Linked DNA regions of Homo sapiens: region 1 is linked to region 2. The links are contacts of gene promoters, found by promoter capture Hi-C in blood cells and fetal thymus (Javierre and others, 2016). All regions are on one chromosome and are shown on one strand. The core of a region is centred on a gene start or on the middle of the fragment in contact, and the rest is flanking DNA. Distances in the headings are between cores, read along the strand shown.

The links. Contacts are between HindIII fragments. The CHiCAGO score rates a contact against its expected background, and 5 or more counts as called.
Region 1: the fragment with the promoter of KRT34 here is called in contact with a fragment that was not itself captured in region 2 in 3 of 17 cell types (M1 macrophages, naive B cells and endothelial precursors); the score reaches 6.4 in M1 macrophages.

The regions. Positions count from the first base shown.
Region 1 is chr17:41,380,969-41,385,570 of GRCh38, reverse strand. It overlaps KRT34 (keratin 34), which reads left to right and starts at 3,265. Exons shown (of 7, transcript NM_001386014.1): 1 at 3,265-3,672; 2 at 3,776-3,858; 3 at 4,359-4,515. The coding sequence starts at 3,325. RefSeq lists an enhancer at 3,073-4,272. The HindIII fragment of the contact is 8,651 bases long and covers 1-4,602 here.
Region 2 is chr17:40,853,181-40,857,688 of GRCh38, reverse strand. The region is part of intron 1 of LOC105371777 (a long non-coding RNA gene); the gene reads right to left. Among named protein-coding and RNA genes, the nearest start is that of KRT12, 12 kb to the left of the region's middle. RefSeq lists an enhancer at 398-692. The HindIII fragment of the contact is 170 bases long and covers 2,838-3,007 here.

The DNA of each region.
Region 1 (4,602 bases), core at 2,016-4,515, 530 kb before region 2:
TGTGTGGGAGAAGCAAAAGAGTAGTTTTTGTATGCAGTGAAAGTTATCAGCTGAAAACAGACAGTTATAAGTTGTTTCATATAAGCCCTATGATGATCACAAAAAAATACCTATAGAAGATACACAAAAGAAAAAGAAAAAAGAATAAAAACATATCGATACAAAAATCCATGCAACACAAAGGAAGACAGCAAGATAGGAAAAGAGAGACAAAAGAACTCTGAGAAAGACAAAAGAATTAACAAAATGGCAATATTAGTCTTTCCCTATCAATAATTTATTGAAATGTAAATGAATTAAACTCTCCAATCAAAAGACATGGAGTAGCTGAATGGATTTTCAAAAAACCAACAAGTACTATCTACATACTATCTAGAAGAGACTGACTTTAGATTTAAAGACAATGTATAGGCTGAAAGTGAAGGAATGGGAAAAAAAATATTCCGTACAAATGGTAACCAAAAGACAGCAGGATGGCTGTACTTATATATCAGACAAAATAGTCTTTAAGTCAAAAATTGTCACAAAAGGCAAAGAAGAACATTATATAATAATGAAAAAATTCACCAGGAAGATATAACAATTGCACACATATATGAACCCAACATCAGAGCACCTAATATATATATAACAAACATTGACAGAACCAAAGGGAGAAATGGACAATGCAATAATAGAAGAATTCAGTAACTCACTTTTGATAATGAATAGAACATTCAGATAGAAAATCAACAAGGAAACAACAGATTTGAGCAATACTATAGAACAAATGGACCTAACAAATAACACGTTCTATCCAATGGTAGCAGAATGCATATTCTCCAGTGCATGCGGAACATTGTCCAGGATAGATCATATGTTGGGTCACAAAACAAGTCTTAACGAATTTAAGAGGATTGAAATCATACTAAGTATCTTTTCCTACCACAATGGAATGAAACTAGAAAACTAGAACGGAAATAAGAAAAAAACTGAAAAATACACAAATATGTAGAAATTAAAAAACATTTAAATAATCAATGGGTCAAAGAAGAAATCAAAAAGGAAATTAGAAAATATCTTGAGACAAATGAAAATGAGAACACAACGTATCAAAATTTATGGGATGCAGCAAAAGCAGTACTAAGAGGAAAGTTTTATATATGTATATACATAAACCTATATCTAAACATACACACACGCCTACCATGTACCTACAAAAATTAAAAAATTAAAAAAGATAAAGAACAAACTAAGCTCAAAGTTAGCAGCAGGAAGGATATAATAACACTTTTTGCTCTAAATTTTATTATGATACTTACGATAAAACTTAGAGCAGAAATAAATAAAAATAGAGACTAGAAAAACAATAGCAAAAAATCAATGAAACAGAGTTTTTTTGAAAGACACAGAAAATTTACAAACCTCTAGATAGACTAAGAAAAAAAGAGGAAACACTCAAATAAATAAAATCGAAGATGTGCTTTTCTGCTCCTCTCATGCTGCTTTTGAAATTCAGATGCAGCCTTCTTTAAATGATTTGTATTGTGTTCCACAAATAATCTTTTGGGACTTCTTTCTGAAACATGACTTTGTTTCCCTGCGGAACAAAGGCAAGGTAGAGTGACAGGGAAAAGAAGTGAGGTAGGGAAGGCTATTCTGTGAAGAGTGATTATTGGGCAATAGAGAGGCTCCCTAGGTTATGCAAGAGTCAAAGGGTAACTGGATCCCAGAGGTGATAGAAGCACACTTATCAGAGACAGTGTCTACTTGTAGGGACAACAGAGTAAATCTGCATTCTCATGGGCACTGTGGCTTGTCCTGGAAGCATCTCAGGCTGGCATAGTCATACCTCTAGGAGAGTTAATACTCTAGAAAGAGGAACAAGTCTAGAAATAAGATGATAGAAATTTCCAGAGAATTTGAGAAAAAGCCACCATGGATACAAAGATACCTCTGAGCACCCTTGCTCCAATTTTCGTTTCTTGGTGAGTCTGCAGTATTATGCTTCATATTCATGCTTCAGTGCTGCCATCTGAACTCTCACTGCTCCAGACTGTTTCCAGCATATTTTTTCTTCTAGATATTTCTACTCTTGCTCATCTTTAGAGAGGCTGTTGCTTTAGTACAAGTTGGCAAATTTTTTAATTTTAGGGCTTTGTGGACACTATAGTCTCTGTCACAACTACACAACTCTGCCACTGTAGCACAAAAGCAGCCATATACAATAGCTAAACAAATGGGCATGGCTGTGTTCCATTAAAACTTTATTTACTGCCGGACGCATTGGCTCACGCCTGTAATCCCAGCACTTTGGGAGGCCGAGGCGGGCGGATCACGAGTTCAGGAGTTCAAGAGCAGCCTGGCCAACATGGTGAAACCCCATTTCTGCTAAAAACACAAAAATTAGCCGGGTGTGGTGGCGGGCACCTGTAATCCCAGCTACTCGGGGGGCTGAGGCAGATAATTGCTTGAACCCGGGAGGTGGAGGTTGCAGTGAGCCGAGATCGTGCCACTGCACTCCAGCCTGGGCGACAGAGTGAGACTCTGTCTCAAAAAAAAAAAAACAGAAAACAAACAAACAAAAACTTTATTTACAAAAATTCAGCAGGGTAAACTTGACGTGTGGGCTGCCATTTGCAGATGCCCTCTTTTAGGTATACTCCCATCCATTCCATTGGTTTCCATTTTACTTTCTCATTTCTCAACCATGAACATGCCATTGTTTTCAGTTGCTCCATGTGTTGGCAAGTTCCCTAAACCCCAACGAATAGTAAGGCTCAGGATCATTTCGGCGAATACAGGTTGAGTTTCTGCTATAAAAACAAATTGAATGCTGAAACATGGATGAATGTGGGAGGAAAGAGCTACTTGGAAGAGTAACTCTCAAAGCTCTCTCTCAGAGCTCTCTCTCTGGGGAGAAAGAACAGTGGCGGAAACTCCTGGGTGAGGAATCCCTGATTCCCAAACAACTCCACCCCATGTCCCTGGCTGTCCTCCCCTCTGAGTAATGCAGACAGCCTTTTGGGGCTGTGATGATTCTATCTCCTATGAAGCCATCTGATGAAACTCTGATTTCACCAACCACTAGCACCCAGGAAGAGCCTGGTGTGACATAAGCTGAATGGAATAATTTTATGGGTTGAGGGGGGACTCTTTAGAAGCATCTAACTAGCATATTTTGGAGAAAAATTAGCTGAAGCATTAGGAAAGGAAACTATGCTGTATGCCAAGCCCCCACCCACAATTAATGGTATAAAAGGACTGCAGAGGAAGGAGAGACTCAAACCTGCCCACATCCACCTCCAGCAGCTTACCTGCTTTTCCATTACCTGTTCCAGCACCATGTCTTACAGTTGTTGCCTGCCCAGCCTGGGCTGCCGCACCAGCTGCTCCTCCCGGCCCTGCGTGCCCCCCAGCTGCCACGGCTACACCCTGCCTGGGGCCTGCAACATCCCCGCCAATGTGAGCAACTGCAACTGGTTCTGTGAGGGCTCCTTCAATGGCAGCGAGAAGGAGACTATGCAGTTCCTGAACGACCGCCTGGCCAGCTACCTGGAGAAGGTGCGTCAGCTGGAGCGGGACAACGCGGAGCTGGAGAAACTCATCCAGGAGCGGTCCCAGCAGCAGGAGCCCTTGCTGTGCCCCAGCTACCAGTCCTACTTCAAGACCATTGAGGAGCTCCAGCAGAAGGTGAGGGGGTTGGCCATATGGGGGGCCAGCAGCAGCTGGCTCTCTTTGAACAGTAAGACATTTTCAAGTTCAAGTGTACCTCATGAGAGAAATTTCTTTTCAGATTCTGTGTGCCAAGGCTGAGAATGCCAGGCTGGTGGTGAACATTGACAATGCCAAGCTGGCCTCTGACGACTTCAGAAGCAAGTATGTTGAACTTCAAGGTCCCTATGGTTCTTTCATGGCCCTAGGGACCTACTATTGCCTGGAAGAGAGGAGAAAGCCATTTCTCTCTATTTCTCCTCCTAGGGCTGGTTATGTAAAATTAGTTTCAAATAGGGAACTAGACTCATGTGCTGCCTGCTCTTTGGTCTATACTGGTTTTTTTTGGAAGTGTTTCTTAAACCACAAAATTCAGAGATTGAAATGAATTGTTCTTTGGGAATTGATTTGGTGGTATATTAGCTAACAAAACCGAGAACACAGTGAGAGACTTCATCTCATGTGTGCCTGTGGGCTCCTCGTGGTGTTAGGTGAGTCAGGGAACCTCTTCAGCCTATCCATGGACAGCTTGACTGAAGCATATGGAAGAGAAGAGGCAGAAAACTGTAAGTTCAAGAAGATTCAGGCCAATTCTACCCAAACAACACATGAGAGGGGAAGGTGGTTTTCTTTCCTGACTTATCCTCCCACTCCGACACGTGCAGGTACCAGACGGAGCAGTCCCTGAGGCTGTTGGTGGAGTCGGACATCAACAGCATACGCAGGATCCTGGATGAGCTGACCCTCTGCAAGTCTGACCTGGAGTCCCAGGTGGAGTCCCTGAGGGAGGAGCTGATCTGCTTGAAGAAGAACCATGAGGAGGTATGAAACAAATTCACAAAAGCAGGCCTCAGAACTAAGCTACTAGCACTGGGAATCAGGAGAGGATTACTGTCTGGATCCCTGGTC
Region 2 (4,508 bases), core at 1,673-4,172:
ATGAGAGTCTATCCCTCATTCACTAGGCCACAAGCCCTAATTCAACACAGATGTGAGAGGTCCCTTTGGACTCGGCAAGTAATGAATTGCAGAAGTGGAAGGTCTGTCTTTAAAGAAAAGAACTCCTAAGAAAAAAAAACTGAATAAAGAATCCTATAGCAAAAGACAAGTACATTGTTTATGATTATCCTAAAATCTAAAATTTTACAAATTTAAATTTTTACTTTGATATGCATATGTTGTGTGTAAAAGCTAGTGGAAGGTCTGGAAAATACTGTATATATACTGAACTGTTATAGTAGTTATCTCTTGGGGATTAGCAAGGGGTTTGAAGAATACCTTTATTAAAATGTTTAACAAACAGCATATATGACTCTGATAATCAGAAAAAAAAATAAATGTTATTCTCCCAAACAAATGGCTTTGCAAATGGGTCACAGCAGGAAGGAACCACCTAGAAAAACAACCACGTAGAAAAACAAAGCCAAAGCTTTATTTCTTTAGGCTTTGTAAGAGTGCCATCTTCTGGAGTCTCAAGAAATGAACTTTAAAATAAACTAACCTGGCTGGGCGCGGTGGCTCATGCCTGTAATCCCAGCACTTTGGGAGGCCAAGGCAGGTGGGTCACTTGAGGTCAGGAGTTCGAGACCAGCCTGGCTAACATGGCGAAACCCTATCTCTACTAAAAATACAAAAATTAGCCAGGAGTGGTGGCGTGCGCCTGTAGTCCCAGCTACTAGGGAGGCTGAGGCAGGAGAATAGCTTGAACCCAGGAGGCGGAGGTTGCAGTGAGCCAAGATCACACCACTGCACTCCAGCCTGGGCAACAGAGCAAGATTCCGTCTCAAAAAATAAAATAAAATAAAATAAAAATAAGCTAAGCCTGTGTGTTCAAGCCACTTGAGATGTATTGATACTAGAAGGTTTATCTTTTAAAACAAGAAAGAAGAAAAAAAGCAAACCTTTTACAACGATCAACTTAGCAAATTAAAATTGTCTTATTTAACTAATAATTAGTTTCCAAAAAGTTCACCAGTAAGGAGGCAGTTCTACAAGGCATAAAGTGAAAAAGAAAGTTAGCAATTATTTAGAGTTAAGAAAACCAGCCAATCAATAACTACTCAGGCTTTAAAAACATACTCAAATATCAAATGAAAATGAAATTCTTAATCATATAGCTGAGTAAATGATTTTTTTATGGGGTAGTAAATGTTTCTTAAATCTTGGAACTGAATCCAAGATTGTGCTGAGCTAAAGAAACCAGACACAAAAGAATACATACTGTATGATTCCATTTATATGAAACTTTCAGAAAGATAAAATCTCATCTATAGTGACAGAAATAAGCTCAGTGGTCACCTGAGCTGAAAGGTGTGGGAGGAGTGAGAATTAACTGGTTAACCTGGAAGGGGCACCTGAGAACCTTTGGGACCGATGGAAGTGTTCCGTATCTTGACTGTGGTGATGGGTCCATTTAGCAAGGCTCTTCAAACTGCACATTTAAAACGAATATATTTCATTGTAAGTAAATATTAACTCAATAGTCAATTTTAAAATAATAATTGAATATTCTTTCTTCAGATGATACTGTCCACAGGCGCAGAGAGGCCATGTAGGATCGTCAAAGGTGTCCTAGGGCAAGCTGGCTCTTAATCACTGATCAGTAAATATTCAGGAATTTTCCAAGCTGGCTATTAAACCATGGGCAGCTTGAAATTGGCCATGATGGGAGTATTTACACAAATGGAACTTGGGCTTTTAAAATGTATTTCCCAGAAAACTGTTTTACACCAGTACACCACTGAGCATAGAGGTTAAAAGCACAGTTCAAAGGCCTGAGTTTGGGTCCCAGCTCTGGCACTTTCTAATGGTTTTACTTACCTCTCTGTTCCATAGTTCTCTGTTCCCTAAAATCAAGGCAAAAAAGGATACCTGCTTCACGCCCTATTATGAGAATTCTATGGGTCAATTCACACTTGGCATATAGTAAGCACTAAATATTACCTGCTATTATTATGCAAAGAAAAAAAGTCTCTCTACAACTAAAGAAATGAACTGGTTTACATATTTCCCCCAGACATATTTATTCTTTTTCTTCCCTTCATGCACAATCCTAAATTATTCCACTTTTGTAAAAAAAAAAAGTGCACTTTTCTCACCCAACATATGGGGAGGGGGGAATAATATTTATCTTCCCTCTATCACAAGTTGTGAGCATCAAATAAGCCAACTTCTGTGAAGGAGCTTAACAAGCCATAAAGCACTTTGAAACTATAAGATGTGCTTTCTTCAGAGATGGGGTCGCTCTCTGTCACCCAGGCTGTAGTGCAATGGTGTGCTCATAGCTCACTGCAGCCTCAAATTCCTGGGCTCAAGTGATCCTCCCACCTCAGACTACTGCCATTTTAGTCAAATGTCAGATGCCTGATGAAAGGTGCAAACCACGGTGCCTGTCTAAAATGCTAATATTAATGTAGCTGCTCAAATTGAAGGGGAGGATTCTACAACTAAATACAGAGTATATAAAATAAATTAAGAAAAACTGGGGCTGGGAGCAGTGGCTCACGCCTATAATCCCAGAACTTTGGGAGGCCGAAGCGGGCAGATCATGAGGTCAGGAGATTGAGACCATCCTGGCTAACACAGAGAAACCCTGTCTCTACTAAAAATACAGAAAATTATCCGGGCGTGGTGGCGGGCACCTGTAGTCCCAGCTACTTGGGAGGCTGAGGCGGGAGAATGGTGTGAACCCGGGAGGCAGAGCTTGCAGTGAGCTGAGATCGCACCACTGCATTCCAGCCTGGGCGACAGAGTGAGACTCCGTCTCAAAAAAAGCTTAGCATTCTTGGGAATTGTCATGCATGATTTTAGGGTTTATTTCTTAAATTAGCATAATATAGCAGAATTATAAATAAATGCAATGCTTTACACACATGCAATAAATTGTTTGCAAAACTCAGAATAGATATTTTAACTTTATAGACTGTAAAAACATGAGCATCAAGCTTTTTCAGGAAAAAAATTCTGCATACTACTCTTCTTTAGAATTAAATTCATTGCGAATTCTAGTTGCTAAAATATGTCATTGTTTTTTCACTATGTACATATTCTTAATGAAATGCAACTCTTCTTCAAAATGATGGAACAAATACGCAATTTAGAAGCAGACCTGTAAATAAATCACACTGATAAAACAGTCCACAGACAGCAGTGGGCTCTAATAGAAGCCATTTAGATGGTATTTCAGGCTTTCTCAGTGAGTCATTATCTTACTCAGAACAAGTTACTCAACTTGAGATGACTCACTTTGTACAAAAAGACAACAATAATATCACATATAATCACATTAGCCCGGCATTTTGAAATCTTTAAAAACACCGTAAACACACGACGCTATGACCTTGGTTGGTAAGAATATGGTCATTTTAGTTACTGACTTGCACTTATTGATCTCCTGAAGTTATACATACACTACTAAGTTTCTGCTAAGTGTACTCATTTTGAAATATTTCATTTATTTGCAAGTAACATGGGATTTTAAAGAAATCACGTCAGGCTGCAATTTCACGTTTCAAATAAACAGAGCAACAAGTATAACTTTTTTGACAAGTTGCAGTGTAATTTTTATTTTTTATTATTATACTTTAAGTTCTGAGATACATGTGCAGAACGTGCAGATTTGTAACATAGGCATACACGTGCCATGGTGGTTTGCTGCACCCATCAACCCATCATCTACATTAGGTATTTCTCCTTAATGTTATCCCTCCCCTAGTCCCTCACTCCCCGACAGGCCCCGGTGTGTGATGCTCCCCTCCCTGTGTCCACATGTTCTCATTGTTCAACTTCCATTTATGAGTGAGAACATGTGGTGTTTGGTTTTCTCCGCTGGCTTATTTATGTATACAAGTGGGGCATCACATATGCATTTATTTGTGTATTCATTCTGTAGCTGTAATAGGTTCATTGCCTGGATGTTCACAGCAAGTCAATACCCAGAGGCACCAGGTTGCAACAGAGACAGAGGTTTAATGGTAAGGCCAACAAATGAGGAGAAAAGAGAAAACCCCAAATCCATCTTCCCGGGGACTCTGGGGCGAGGGTTTTTAAGAGTTTTGGAGTGAGCCAAAGCATAGAGATTGTTGATTAGTTGAAGAGTACAGGGTGAAGTCCCAGGACAGGGAGAGAAAGAAACTGTACTCTCATGCTCATTTGGTTTGTCTGTGGGAGTCTTTAAATTGGTTGGCGTTAGCAGTTCCACAGTAATTCAGGATCCGTTTAAGCAATTCTTAAACAAAAGCCTCATGGTTCTAACATTAGAATTTCTATCTACAGGAACAATGGGGATGCAAATGGTCAGAATCTAAGGTTATGTGATGTTTAGTTACAAGGAAGTGGGTCAAAGTGCAGCCTGGTTAAAGCTTAATTATAACTACATTTCTGCCCAGAATTCTTAATTCTGTGAGGATGGCTTCAATTCCTTCAACAAGCTTTTATTTAGCACCAAC